Regions from separate parts of the Homo sapiens genome. Here region 2 is linked to region 1. The links are contacts of gene promoters, found by promoter capture Hi-C in blood cells and fetal thymus (Javierre and others, 2016). All regions are on one chromosome and are shown on one strand. Each heading gives the region's core, a stretch centred on a gene start or on the middle of the fragment in contact. The rest is flanking DNA. Distances are from core to core; before and after follow the strand shown.

Evidence for each region. The method cuts DNA at HindIII sites, captures the fragments that hold promoters and counts their contacts. A CHiCAGO score of 5 or more calls a contact.
Region 2: a contact is called between the fragment with the promoter of KRTAP10-7 here and the fragment with the promoter of UBE2G2 in region 1, in 2 of 17 cell types (total CD4 T cells and neutrophils). The highest score is 5.9, in total CD4 T cells.

What each region holds. Positions count from the first base shown.
Region 1 is chr21:44,797,712-44,804,462 of GRCh38, reverse strand. UBE2G2 (ubiquitin conjugating enzyme E2 G2) reads left to right here and starts at 2,643. Exons shown (of 6, transcript NM_003343.6): 1 at 2,643-2,757. The coding sequence starts at 2,715. It overlaps LINC01424 (long intergenic non-protein coding RNA 1424), which reads right to left and starts at 2,222. Exons shown (of 2, transcript NR_109928.1): 1 at 1,827-2,222; 2 at 1-716. RefSeq lists silencers at 2,025-2,074, 2,575-2,794, 2,855-2,914 and an enhancer at 2,462-3,417. The HindIII fragment of the contact is 6,659 bases long and covers 529-6,751 here.
Region 2 is chr21:44,598,018-44,604,768 of GRCh38, reverse strand. KRTAP10-7 (keratin associated protein 10-7) reads right to left here and starts at 4,172. Exons shown (of 1, transcript NM_198689.3): 1 at 2,595-4,172. The coding sequence starts at 4,147. The coding sequence ends at 3,035. All of the region lies in intron 1 of TSPEAR (thrombospondin type laminin G domain and EAR repeats), which reads left to right. RefSeq lists enhancers at 969-1,823, 1,824-2,680, 2,779-3,538, 3,539-4,288, 5,049-5,805. The HindIII fragment of the contact is 9,535 bases long and covers 1-6,751 here.

The sequences.
Region 1 (6,751 bases), core at 1,394-3,893:
TTTTCTGAGATTTATGCAAATGGTGCATTTGGAAAAATAGATCTGTTGGGATTACTATTTTCAACAAGATTACTTATGTGAAACTGACTCCAAGAATCTTTGGGTTAAATTGATGCTCCTGGAGGAGAGAGGCCCTATTTATCCTAGTATCTATGCCTGGGGTCCCAACTGGAACTTCTCCAGTTTTTGCACCGAAAGGTTCACATCCCAGGAACCCCCACTCCCAGGGAACTTGAGTTGTCATCTTAGCCATGCTGCAGGAGTGCCCAGCTGGAAACGCGTGATGTTCATGGGAAAACCCCACCGTATAACATGGGTTAAGCTGTGAGGTCCTTTTTATATTTCAGAACTTTAGTTGCTAAAGATAGAAAGCATTAATTTTATTCTGTACAGTTGGCCTCCCCAGGGTGTGCTGCCCTGCAGTATCACACACTGGCTGCTCAGAGTCCCTGGGACTCCACTACCACTTGATCCAAGTTGAGAGTTCCACGAGTTAGCCAGTTAAAACATAGGATGCCCAGCTAAGCTTGAATTCCACATAAGGTACTGAACGACGTCCCTGAAATGTTGCAGAGAGCCTGGTTCTCTGAAGATAAGGTGTTGTAACAGTCCTGTTGAGGGGAGAGACTGCCATCTTGTTTCAGCAACTCATATTTCAAGTGACTTTTGTCACTTGAAGCTGAAGCTAATCCTGATAGAAGCTGTAAACCACATTTCTGAAAAATAATAATTGGAAAACATACAGTGTTCTGCAGTAAGATGTCTGAAAAAGATGGATAAAATTATGAAAACATCAAGCATATGTTGCAGTGAACATCACGGCATTGACAGTAATGCTTTATTGCCCACATCTCCCATAACTGGAAAAGGGGAGCTGCTCTCCTTTAGGAGCACTGGACAGACTGCCTTGGGGTGTGGGGTGCTGTCTGATTAGAGAGAGAGCAGCTCTTGAATGGGGGAGGAAACACCTCCACTGTGACTTTTTGCACATTGCATTTGCACAAATTACTCTCTGAAACAGTCTCAAAGGACCATGTCATTTTATAAAGCACTGTGGTCATTTGAAAAGATGGAGGTAGACTGAAATTTTGAATTTTGGGGAATTTTCCTACACTATGCATACTTGTGAAGTTTGTATTGTTAAATTTCATTTGATTTGACAAATCCGTGTTAAGAGTATACGATGTCCAGGTACAGAGGCTGCCCCAGAAACAAGACAGAAGTAGGCAGGGACCCATGGCTCTCATGGAACACGCTTTTGGTTAGAGGCAACAGATAAGGGTAATACATTTATAGCATGCCAGTAAGTTCTATAGTACGGTGTGTTGAGTAGGTGTTGCAGAGAAAAAGGTATGCGGTGAAGGCCGGGTGGTGACGGCCTAGGCCACACTGAAGAGGCAACATTTGAGCAAAGACTGAAAGAGCAGGTGGGAAGAGTCGGGGACAAGAGCCGCCAGAAAGTGTTTCCGGGGAGGGAAGAGTCAGGGACTCTGAACCAGGCCAGGGCAGCTGGAGTGGAGTGAGAGGGAGGGAGGGTCTGGGAGTATGGCGGGGTGACCGGAGGCAGAGCAAAGCACTGCAGGACTTCAGCTTTACTGAGTGAAATGGGCGGAGCAGAGTGTGAATGTGATCAGACTTCTTTTCAAGGGATCATCTGCAATGCTGGAAAGGAAAAGACAAATGATAGATTATTGCAACAAACAGCCAGGCAAGAGATGCAAACTTTTTTTGCAAAGGTGTGTGTGTATATACATCCTTGCACCGGACAGCCACGAAGCACCTACTGTGCTGTGAAGTCAGTAAGGATGTGGGTTAAAATCGCTCACCTCACAGCGGGTCAATCGGGAAAGCACACCCACTCACTACAGCCATTATGGGAAAAAGGGCTCGCCCCTTACAGGATCCTCAACTGTGGAGAGGCCGGGAGCCCACGCGGGGCGCTGGGGAGTCTCTCAGCACCCCAGGGGTTCGGGCAGGGACCTGAGCCGCGCCCTCTCTCCCGGGGGTGCCCTGGGGTCGAGGCTGCTCGGCAGAGCCGGCGGTCAGTTCGAGCCGCGGGCCCGAACAGGGCTCTCCCCGCGGCTCTCTCCCTCGGAGTAGAAGGTGCTGGACCCGAACTCCAGCGGAGCCGCACAACACGTGGAGGAAAAGCGCCAGGACAGCTAACCTTCCCACCTTTTCAAACCTGAAACCCGGCCGGCTGGGGACGGTTGGAATGTTCAGTGCGTACCCGCACCTCAGGCCCCTTGTCTCCAGCCCCAGACCGCCCCGCGACCATCCTCCCCACCCCCCGACCTCTTATCTCGTCCCCGCCCTGTCTCCCCAACCTCCATCCTCCCCTCCACAACCCCCGTCCTCCCGCCCTTCGGCCACGCGCGGCTGGCACAGAACAGGCAGTTAGCGCACACACACTGGAACAGGCGCCACCGTTCAGGAAGTCTCTACAAGACCAGGACCCTGAGGCCTCTGGAAGTGCCGGGACCGAACCAACCCCGCAGAGCGACTAAGGCGAGGGCAGGAGCCAAGAGAATCGTAGCCGCGGTCGCGGGTTGAGCTCCCACCACCCGGACAGCGCGCCTCGGCGATCGCGCACGCGCCACGCCCCGGAAGAGTTCCTGGGCCCGCGACGGTGGCCCGGAAGCAGTCCCCGGTGTCGGGGCAGGAGGCACGCGCGCGGCTGAGGCGAGGTCGCTCGGCGCAGCTGTTGCGGGGCCATGGCGGGGACCGCGCTCAAGAGGCTGATGGCCGAGTACAAACGTGAGTCTGGGGACCCGGGCCGTCAGCAGCGTCCCGCGTTCCTGCTCCCGGGCCCGCGTCGTCCGGCGGGGCTGGGGCAGGGAGCCTGGCGGGGGAGCCGGGCCCGGGGCCTCCACCGTGAGCCCCCCTGTGGGTCCCGCGGAGTGCCGCGCCCTGCGCCCGCTGCCCACTCTCACGCGTGAAGTCGTGAAGAGAAGCCTTCCCAGCATCAGTAAAGGCAGCGCCGGCGCCGTGTTAGTTGAGAGCACACACAGTTGAGTCTTTGCGGGCTTGTTTTTTTCTCTTCTATTTTTTCTTTTCTTGGCAGCCTTGAGAACGTGCAGTGAGAGCTTGAGGAAGAAGGCCTGACTTGCTGCTGCGGAATTAGGAGGGAAAAGTGTATGCGTTAAAAGGGGAAAGGCTCGTTGGTGGAGCTTTGAAAGGTCAGATTTTGGCTTTCCCTCTAATGAAGGAAAAGGGTTTTTGAACAGTGCCACCTGTCACTCCTCCTAGGTAGTGTTGAGGAAACCTCTTGAGTGCTTTCCTACCCGGTAAATTAGATATTTCTAATGTCTGAGGAGAGCGAAGGGAGAAATGAGAACCTAGGAACACTCGGCATTCCATCGTTTTACACCGAATGCCCGCTTGGAAGAACTGCTGCGAGAAGTCTTGGAATACCATTGTGTTGAAAGCGCCAGGAGCCTGAGTCGCCGATGGAGACGAGATAGTAGCCGGCTAAGAGCAGGGCCTGAGTTCAGACCCGGCCTCTCTGCTTGTTAGCTCTTTGACCTTGTTCCTCTCTCTGTCTCTGCAGTTTCCTTGTCTTAAAAGGTTAAACTTGATACTGCAGGTGAAGTGCTTAGCAAAATACCTGATGTGTAACCCTTAATAAAGTTAGCTGCTGCTTTTGTAATTAGATTGAGGATAATTTTGGAAGAAAGTTAAGCTAAAAGAATGAATGTGAGAAAAAAAATAAGTGGTGAATATACATGTAGCTTGATTTCGTAAAACTATTGGTGACACCGCCCAGTAAGAGTTGATGTTTGGCTTAAGCAGACCAAAACGTTGCAAATACAGGCTCACTCACGTATGGTCATTCTTCCCTTGGTATCTGGAGGGGATTGGTTCCAGGCCCCGCTGCAGATACCAGAATCCTCGGATGCTCAAGTCCCTACTATAAGGTGGCGTGGTATTTGCATTTAATGTATGCATAGCCTCTCATAACTTTTAAATCATCTCAAGGTTACTTATAGTACCTAATGCAATGTAAGTGCTGCACAAATAGTTACACTGATTTTTTTTACTTGTATTTTTAAATCGTCATTTTTTATTGTTATTTTTTTCAAATATTTTGTATTCCTGGTTGGTCGAATCCATGGATATGCAGCCGCAGATACACAGGGCCTCCTGTAAACGTTCAAATAACGCTCGCCACCTAGTGTCTGCTAAAGCAGAACATAAAGGCACACCTCAGTTTCCCGCGCGCTTTGCTTTATTGAGCTTCACTTCGCAGATCTTGCATTTTTTACAAGTTTACAAGTTTTTTACAAGCAACCCTGCATGGAAGCAAGTCTGTTGGCACCATTTTTGCTCGCTTCGTGTCTCTCTCTTACATTTTAATCTATTACTGTGATCTATGATCAGTAATCTTTGATGTTACTATTGTAATTATTTTGGGGCATCACAAACTATGCCCATAAAAGATGGTAGTCCTAATAAATGTTGTGTGTGCTTCACTGACTGGCTGTTTCCCCATCTCTCTCCCGGCCTCTCTCTTCCCTGAGACAAAACAACATTGAAATTAGGCCAATAGTAACTGTACAGTGGGCTCAAGTGTTGAAGTGAAGAGTTGCACTCTACCCACTTCAAATCAAAAGCTAGAAATGATTAAGTTTAGTGAGGAAGGAATGTTGAAAGTCAAGATAGGCTGAAAGCTGGGTCTCTTGTTAGCCAAGTTGTGAATGCAAAGGAAAAGTTCTTAAAGGAAATTAGAAGTGCTGCTCTGTTGAACACAATGAATGATAAAGTGAAAAAGCCTTACTGCTGATATGGAGAAAGTTTTAGTGGTTTGGATAGAAGATCAAACCAGCCATAACATTCCTTTAAGCCAAAGCCTAATCCAGAGCAAGGTCCTAACTCTTCAGTTTTATGAAGGCTGAGAGCAGTGAGGAAGCTGCAGAAGAAAAATTGGGAGCTAACAGAGGTTGGTTCATGAGATTGAAGTAAATAACCTGTCTCCATAACAGAAAAGCACAAGGTGAAGCAGCAAGGTCTCCAGAAGATCTAGCTAAGATCAAGATGAAAGTGGCTCCTAAATTAAGCAATAGATTTACAAGGTACGTAAAATAGCCTTATACGGTATTGGGAGGAGATGATGCCATATACAACGTAAACAGCTAGAGAGAAGTCAATGACTGGCTTCAAAGGACAGGGCGACTCTTGTTAGGGGCTAATGTCGGTCACTTTAAGTTGACTGAGTTGAAGCCAGTTCTCATTTATCATTCAGAAAATCTTAGGGCCCTTAAAAATTATGCTAAATCTACTCTGAGCTCTAGAGATGGAAAAACAACCTGGATGACAGCACATCTGTGTACAGCATGGTTTACTGAATATAAGCCCACTGTTGAGACCTACTGCTCAGAAAAAAAGATTATCTTCAAAATACTATTCCTGACAGTGCACCTGGTCACTCAAGAGCTCTGATGGAGAGGTATAAGGAGATAAATGTTTTTGTGCCTGCTAACACAACACCAATTCTGCAGCCCATGGATCCGGGAGCACTTTTGACTTATTTAAGAAATACATTTCATAAGGCCATAGCTGCCATGAAAAGTGATTTCTTTGATGGATCTGGGCAAAGAAAATCAAAAGTCTTCTGGAAAGGATTTATCATTCTAGATGGCATTAAGAACATCTGTGATTCATGGGAGGTCACCATATCAACAACAGGCGTTTGAAAAAGTTGATTTCAATGCTCATGGATGACTTTAAGGGGAGGAAGCAACTGCAGGTGTGGTAGAAATGGCAAGGGAACTGGAATTAGAGGTGGAGCCTGAAGATGTCACTCAGTTGCTACAATCTCATGATCAAACTTGAACAGATGGGGAGTTGAGTCTTACAGATGAGCAAAGAAGTGATTCTTGAGATGGAATCTACTCCTGGTGAAAATGCTGTGAACATTGTTGAAATGACAAAAGATTGAGACTATTCCATAAATTTAGTTGATAAAGCAGCCGCAGGGTTTGAGGGTATTGACTCCAGTTTTGACTGAAGTTCCACTGTGGGTAAAGTGCTGTCAAACAACATCACAGACTACAGAGCAATCTTTTGTGAAAGTAAGAGTCAGTCCCTGTGGCAAACTTAATTGTTGTCTTATTTTCAGAAACTACCACAGCCACTCCTGCCTTCAGCAACTACCACCCTGATCAGTCAGCAGTCATCAATATCCGGGCAAGACTGCACCGGCAAAAAGATTATGACCTGCTGAAGGCTCATATGATTGTTAGCATTTTTTAGCAATAAAAATTAAGCATATTTTGGCAAATAATAATTATTTATTTATTTATTTTTTGAGACAGGGTCTTGCTCTGTCACCCAGGTTGGAGTGCAGTGGCACAACCACAGCTCATTGCAAGCCTTGACCTGGGCTCAAGCTATCCTTTCACTTAATCCACCTGAGTAGCTGAGACTACAGGCATGTGCCCCTACACCTGGCTGATTTTTCTGTCTTCATCTTGACCTCCCTCTATGTTGTCAGGGTTTGGCGAAAGTGACTCCATTTTGATTCTGACAATGTTCATACTCGAACAGAGGGTTGGATGTGGGGGACTATTACTTCTGTGTCCTCATGGGAAACCTGGCTGGTGGGTCAGATGTGTGAACACCTACCATTTCTTGGTATCCTGGTTTGTGTTTGTGTCTCTGTTTTAGTTTTATTTTAGCCCTATTTCTAGGGTTAGGCTAGACTGTGAGCAGGTATTTTCTCTTTTTTTTTTTTTTTTTTTTTTTTTTTGAG
Region 2 (6,751 bases), core at 2,923-5,422, 200 kb after region 1:
CATAGAAGAGACGCACCTCATCACGATAAAGGCCATATGCAACAAGCCCACAGCTGATGCCATACTCAGTGGTGAAAAGCTGAAAGCTCTTTCTCTAAGATCAAAAACAAGGCAAGGATGCCCACTCTTGTCACTTCTATTTAACGTGGTGCTGGAAGTTCTAGCCAGAGCAATTAGGCAAGAAAAAGAAATAAAAGGTACTGAATAGAAAAGAAAGAAGTGAGACTGTCTCTGCTGATGATGTGATCTTATATAGAGATCTCATTATCTTATCTTTGACATGTAAGTCTAGGGTTCACCCCTAGTTAATTTTTGTGCATGGTGTCTCGATGGTAGGTGAGATTGGCTATCTTATCCTGTGATTTTTGGCCATTGGACATCTTATCCTATAATTGCGTATTTCCATCTCTTTTATTCGTTTCTTTTTATGTTTTCTTTATAAATTCTGAATTTGAATCTTTTGTTACATACTGTGGGTGAAGGTCATCAATGCTGGTTCAGAAACCAACAGAAGTCAACATGTCAATGGCTTAAGCCCACAAGGCCTTCCCCACTCCTCACATTGCCATCCAAGCATGCTGCGCCCCTACCTTGTGGACCCACTCTCTGGCACGTGAGCCTCCAAGATAGCCCGGCAAGGAAGAGAGGCAGCAGGGCTCCCACAACCTGTGGCGTGGAAGTGGCAGACATCTCTCCATGCACGTTTAACCAATAGAAACTCATCATGTGGCCCTAACTAACTGCAGGTGGCTGGAACCTGCCAGCCCACGTGCCCAGGAGGGAGACAGTGAGCCCGCAGTCTCCCCGTGATGCCCCACAGGTGGCTTCTCTGGGATGGGATTGGTGGAAACTTTGATTGTGTGCTTATGCTTTTGTGTGCATTTTGCTGCATTCAAGATTGTCAGTATTTTCTCTAATGATTTGTGCCTTTTGCATTTTTTGTGAGATATTGGTTCTTTCACCAGGGATGGCGGTAGGCATTGTTGACCAGGGCAAATGGTGAATGTCCAGGTGACAAAGGGCAGTTTCAGCCACCGTCAGCTTCTGTGGTGCGGCTGAGAATGGCCCCTTGGAGGAGGCTGCTTCTCTCTGCTCAGCCACCCTGGCACGCCCTTCCTCTTGCAGGAGGTTCTGAAGTTCCACCTGTTGCCCTTGGAAGGGAACTTGATGTTTCTGCCCCACAGCACACCTCCCCTGAAGTTCACACCCGGGGCGTGGGGGGCGTGTTTCCCCAGAGGCTCACATGCCTGGATGCTTGCTGGGGCCATGCCTAGGGGAGGAGCCGAGTCTGGGATCCGCAGAGGAGGACGTGCTTCTCTGAGCAAGGCCCCTCCATCTTGCCGTCTGTGGGATTCAGGTGCCTGTAGTTGGGGGACTCACCACAGGGTCCCCTTGGTGCCTCCTGGAGAACCAGAGGGGAGCCAGTGACGCAAAGCCTGGGATGCTGACTTAGGGTGTAGCCCTGGTGCCAGAGAGAAGCCTGGCTCATTTCTTCTGCACAGGGGCCGGGGTAGGGGCAGAGGAGTGCCAGGTGGGACATGTGGGGGCTTATTCCTTGCCAGCTGGTGCTCCAGCCCCACGCCAGAGTTTCAGGCCACAGCCTCTGTGGCCACCACAGGGGAGGGACAGCTCGTTGCAGGCGCAGGTCGGCTCTGCTCCTCATGAAACCTACGATGGCCTGGCCTCACCCAGCCTCCTTCTCTGTCTCCACCCCCTCTGGAGCAGGAGTCAAAGGAAGCACTACCAGAAATGCACCCAGCACTGTCCTAGGACAGCATTGTCATTGCTTGGGAAGGGCAGCTTGGGGTCTGTGTCAGGGTCCCCAAGACGGCGATTCTCCAGGAGGACACAGGCCACACAGGTTGTGGTATTCACAGCTGTGATTTCCCACAGGGAGGACACTGAGCAAAATCAACCAAGGGAAAGGTTCCTGGGGCCGAGTCCAGGGGCACCAGGCTCAGCTTTGGAGGCCTCTCCTGGGGTGGGGGTCACGCAGGACGCGCCTCACTCCTCTGCAAGCAGCTGGGACGCTGCGTGTGCGATGTTGGGGATGCCCTGCCCGGTGATGTACCCGGGGACTGGTCACGTGAGCAGCTTCTGCCTGGGCTACGCCAGAATTCCAGACTCCCAGCAGGGATGTGGGTGTTCGGCCTAAACCACATGGTACAAACAGCTCAGGCCCAGTGAGGCGGGGCCGGGGGGAGCCCCTCGGAAATCCCAGTTCCCAGACGCCAGCCAAGGGCCAGCCCGGCCAGCGGGCCTCAGGATGGCCGTCCCCGCCCACCGTGTGGACCCATTCTGCACACGGCCATGGGGTTTCCTTTCTGGAGCCAGGGGCTGGACACAACCCAGTTTCTGGGGAGGCCCCAAAGCAGCCCCACCCAGGGCAGGCGCTGCTGTTGGATCCCTCACCTCTCCCATCCCTCAGTCCTGCCTACCCCTCGGACATCCGTGTGGTGAGGCTGGTGCAGGGCTGCCAGGACGCCTGGGAAGGACAGGGACCTCGTGGCGTGGGAGCAGCCCAGGACCACCCGCGGGTGGGGGGCATCAGGCAGGGGTCTTTGGTTGTGAACAACAAGAATGAATTCCAGTTGTACTTTTTAGGAAAGGAGTTTATTAGAAGGGTCTGACCTGCTCCCGTGGTCAGGGAAGACAGAGAAAGAGGCCCAGGCCCACAGCAGGGGAGGAGCAGGGCTCGCCACTGAGCTGGGACAGTGACGAGAAACCCAGTTGGTACCTGTCTACCCTCATTTCTCCCCACACCGGGCTATGGCCTGGGAGCACCCGCTGGCCTTGCTGGGGTCACTGCCCACCTGTTGCTGGGGAAGCAGGGCTGGGTAATTGGGGGAAAGTCAAGACTTGGAGAAACAGCTGAGCTGCTTCTAGGAGGAGAAGCGCACACTGGATGGCCAGCTGACCACTGACGTCCACTGCAGGGCTTAGGAGCGGGATGTGGAGAGCCGTCAAGGGTAAAGAATCCAGGGGTGCAGGTGGCAGTGAGCACTCAGGCTTTGGATGATCTTAAGGAGATCACTCAGCAGCTGGACTTCTGGGTTGAGGTGGGGCCACAGCAGGCCGGGCGGGAGCATGCGGGGCGGCAAAGGAGAGACACACAGGAGGCTGGGCGGCAGCAGCTGGCCTGGCAGGAGGAGGTGGGGGCGCAGCAGGAGGGGACGGGCACGCAGCAGGCGGGCCTGCACACGGGGCGGCAGAGGAGGGACACGGAGGAGGAGGGTCTGCAGCAGGAGGTGGTGCAGCAAGCCGGCTGGCAGCTAGACTGCTGGCAGCATGAAGTGGAAGCCCCAGAGCAGACGGGCACACAGCACACAGGCTTACAGCAGACGGGCACGCAGCAGCCCTGCTGGCTTTGGGAGGAGGTGCAGCAAGCTGGCTGGCAGCATGAACCGGAATCATCAGAGCAGGTGGGCACACAGCAGACGGGCTTGCAGCAGACAGGCACACAGCAGGCCTGCTGGCAAGGGGAGGAGGTGCAGCAAGCCGGCTTGCAGCTAGACTGCTGGCAGCACGAGGGCGTGCAGGAGCTGATGCAGCCTGATTGGCAGGGGCTGGGCTCACAGACCGCCTGGCAGCAGGGACTGGACACACAGCTCACACAGCTAGACTGCTGGCAGCACGAAGAGGAAATCCCAGAGCAGACAGGCTTGCAGCAGATGGGCACACAGCAGGCCTGCTGGCAGGGGGAGGAGGTGCAGCAAGCTGACTGGCAGCTAGACTGCTGGCAGCATGAAGAATCCCCACTGCAGACAGGCACACAGTACACAGGCTTGCAGCAGACAGTCTTGCAGCAGACGGGCACGCAGCAGGCCTGCTGGCAGGGGGAGGAGGCACAGCAAGCCAGCTGGCAGCTAGACTGCTGGCAGCACGAGGGCGTGCAGGAGCTGGTGCAGCCTGATTGGCAGGGGCTGGGCTCACAGGTCACTCGGCAGCAGGGGCTGGACACATAGCTCACTGGGGTGCAGACCAGGCTCAGGCAGGGGGCCGGGGCGCAGCAGGGGGGCTCGCAGCAGCTCTCTGGGCAGTCGTCCACCTGCCAGGAGTCGGAGCAAGAGTCACAGGAACCAGGAAGGCAGACGCGGCTGCCGTAGCTCAGGTCGCTGGAGCAGACAGACATAGTGGACGCAGCCATGCTGGGGATTGAACTGGAGGAGATGGGAGTGAGTGGGTGAGTGAGTGAATGAGTGAGTGAGTCCGTGTGTTAGGTGCTCAGGGATGTTGGCTTTTATATGTCTCCCTGGTCTGTTGTCCCAGCTGGAGTGTCAACAACTCCTGCCCCTTCCTTGTTTGTGTTTAAAACCTAGAGAACGCTTATTAGTGCGAGTTTCATGTTTAGTCCTATGAGATGCCGTTCAGTTTGTAAAGTCCTGAGTCTATATTTGGTTCCGTTGACGCACCCTCACCTACCTTTGGCTCCAGAGCATAATATTGAAGTAGACAGGGTGTAATGTCTGCAAATAGAGTGTCCCAGGGGCCTGTGCTGGCTGCAGGAGAGATCCATCCATCCTAATCCCAGCGCCTGTGGGCCATCGCCAGGGGACTCTGCTTGTCTGGGTGGCTGTGGCTTCTGGAATGCCAGGCTAGAGAAGCCCCTGTCAATGATGGCATGAGGGTGGAACATTCCTAGAAGTGACTCCCCACACTCTCTCTGGTGCATAAAGTCCCCCCAAGGGCTTTAGAGCAAGTGGCAAACGGGAAAGGGTGGACAGTGGTGTGAGCCATTTCCCGTCAGGTTCACAGTAGTTCCTGGGGGGCCGTGCACCCCCTCTTCCATCTGGGCACTTAGGGAGGCCCCAGATCCCTGTTTGGGGCCCCCATTTCCATTTGGTTTTATCCCAAGCACTGCAAACCTGTAAGTCTAACCCAGAACACCTCCTCCGCAAAAAGCACAGCCACTCTCAACAGCACTGCCGTGTGAAAAGCAGCAAGCACTGCTTTCGCTTGCAGTGTGTTTTCTTGATTGCCAGCTAAGTCCTTGGTCACCCCAGCTAGACATCTGATCTAAGTCTCCATTTCTTCTGCAAATAATATCCAATTGGCCACCACATCTTTTTGGTTGTTTCTGCTAAATGTTTCCAATTGTATCCGATACTTTTACTTCTCAAGCATTCATTTATTCATGATGCAGTGAGTCCTCCCACATGCTGGAAATTGCACCAGGTGCTGAGAATGTGAAAGTGAAGGGGTAGTAACCCTGACTGTGGACCCCACCAGGGAGGGAGGTGGGCTGCTTGGTGCCTGGTGATGTCAGTGATGACCAGCCATAGCCCAGCATGCATGCGGCCCTGAGAAGTGGCCCCTACCCAGGGGAGAGGGCTCCAGGGGCCCTTCTGGTGGGGTTTGATGCCCAGGCAAGTCTCAGAGGCTCAGGGTGTCCTGTGTCTCTATCTGTGTTTCCCAGTCCAGGCCTCTTAACTCCTAGGGGATTTAGGAAAAGTACAAAAGGCCTCAGAGGGCTAGAAATTCAGTTACACGGTGGGATGAATTGTCTTTCTGTATATTTTGAACTATAAAAATAATATAAATTTGAGCATGGCCTGGTCCCTCCAGAGGTACAGGATCTGGTCCTATGGGATGGAAGGAGAGAGAGAGAGAGAGAGAGAGAGAGAGAGAGAGAGAAAATGGGGGCCTCTGCTTCCATATGGGACAAAGTAGCTATGTCAGACATATACTCCTGCTGAGAACAACTTGAAAAGCTGAACAAAATGTTTTAAAAATGATTCCTTTAAAGCTCTCCTAAAAGAGCTGTTGAAGAAACTAAAGGTAATAGAATGACATCTTTAAAGAGCTGAAAGAAAATCACTGCAAACCTAGAATTCTAGACCAGGAAGAACATTGTTCAAAGGTGAAATATGAAACAAAACAATTCTGGATAACAACTGAGCAAACTGAACACGAGCAGACCTACTCTACAGTAACTATGAAAGGGGATTTTTTTAGGCAGGATGACGGAAGGATAAAAATGCAGGAAGGAACCAGGAGGATCTGAAAGGGTAATATTATTATATTTATAATCTCTTGTGGGGTCTAAACTAGAAGTAGAAAAGTAATGCATGATGACATTAACAATAAAAGGTGAGAAGGATAAATGGAGTGAAAGTTTTCTAAGGTTTCAGCATTGTTTTGGAAGCGGCGGAAGTGCTGACATATGTTACACTTGAATAATCTAAGAATGTGTGCTATAATCTCTAAAGTGACCACGGAAGAGATAGTAAAAACTATGTATAATCAATGTATAATCAATAATGTTAGAAATAAGGCTCAGAGTCGTAAGGAAAAACGAGCACTGAGACAAAGGATTTCTCAGCAAAGCAAATGTATGTCTGTGCAGGAGGGTGTCTCCCATATGGCTGGTTGCCACGAGAGCACACAGAACAAAGGAGAGTAGAAGTTTTTATTCCTAACGTGATCCTGCCCCTGTGTCCTTTCCCCATTGGCTGGGATTGCGCCGCACAATTTAAACTAGACCCGATTGGCTAAACATTTAAACTTTCTTAGATAAAATGGATGCATAATGGGAGAGACGGGAGAGGAGGAAGGGGTCATCTACGGGAAACTAGAGAGCCAGTCTTTTCCTAAATACAGAACGGAATGCGAGCTGGTGCTGATAATGCTAGTGATGTTGCGGCATGCCTGGGCATGTAGTAAAGTCAGAAAGAAGAAAAGGAGAAGAAAGAGAGGGGGCGGGGGTACTAGGAATTAAAGAACAAAAGGTTGAGCAGCCTGTTTGAAGAGA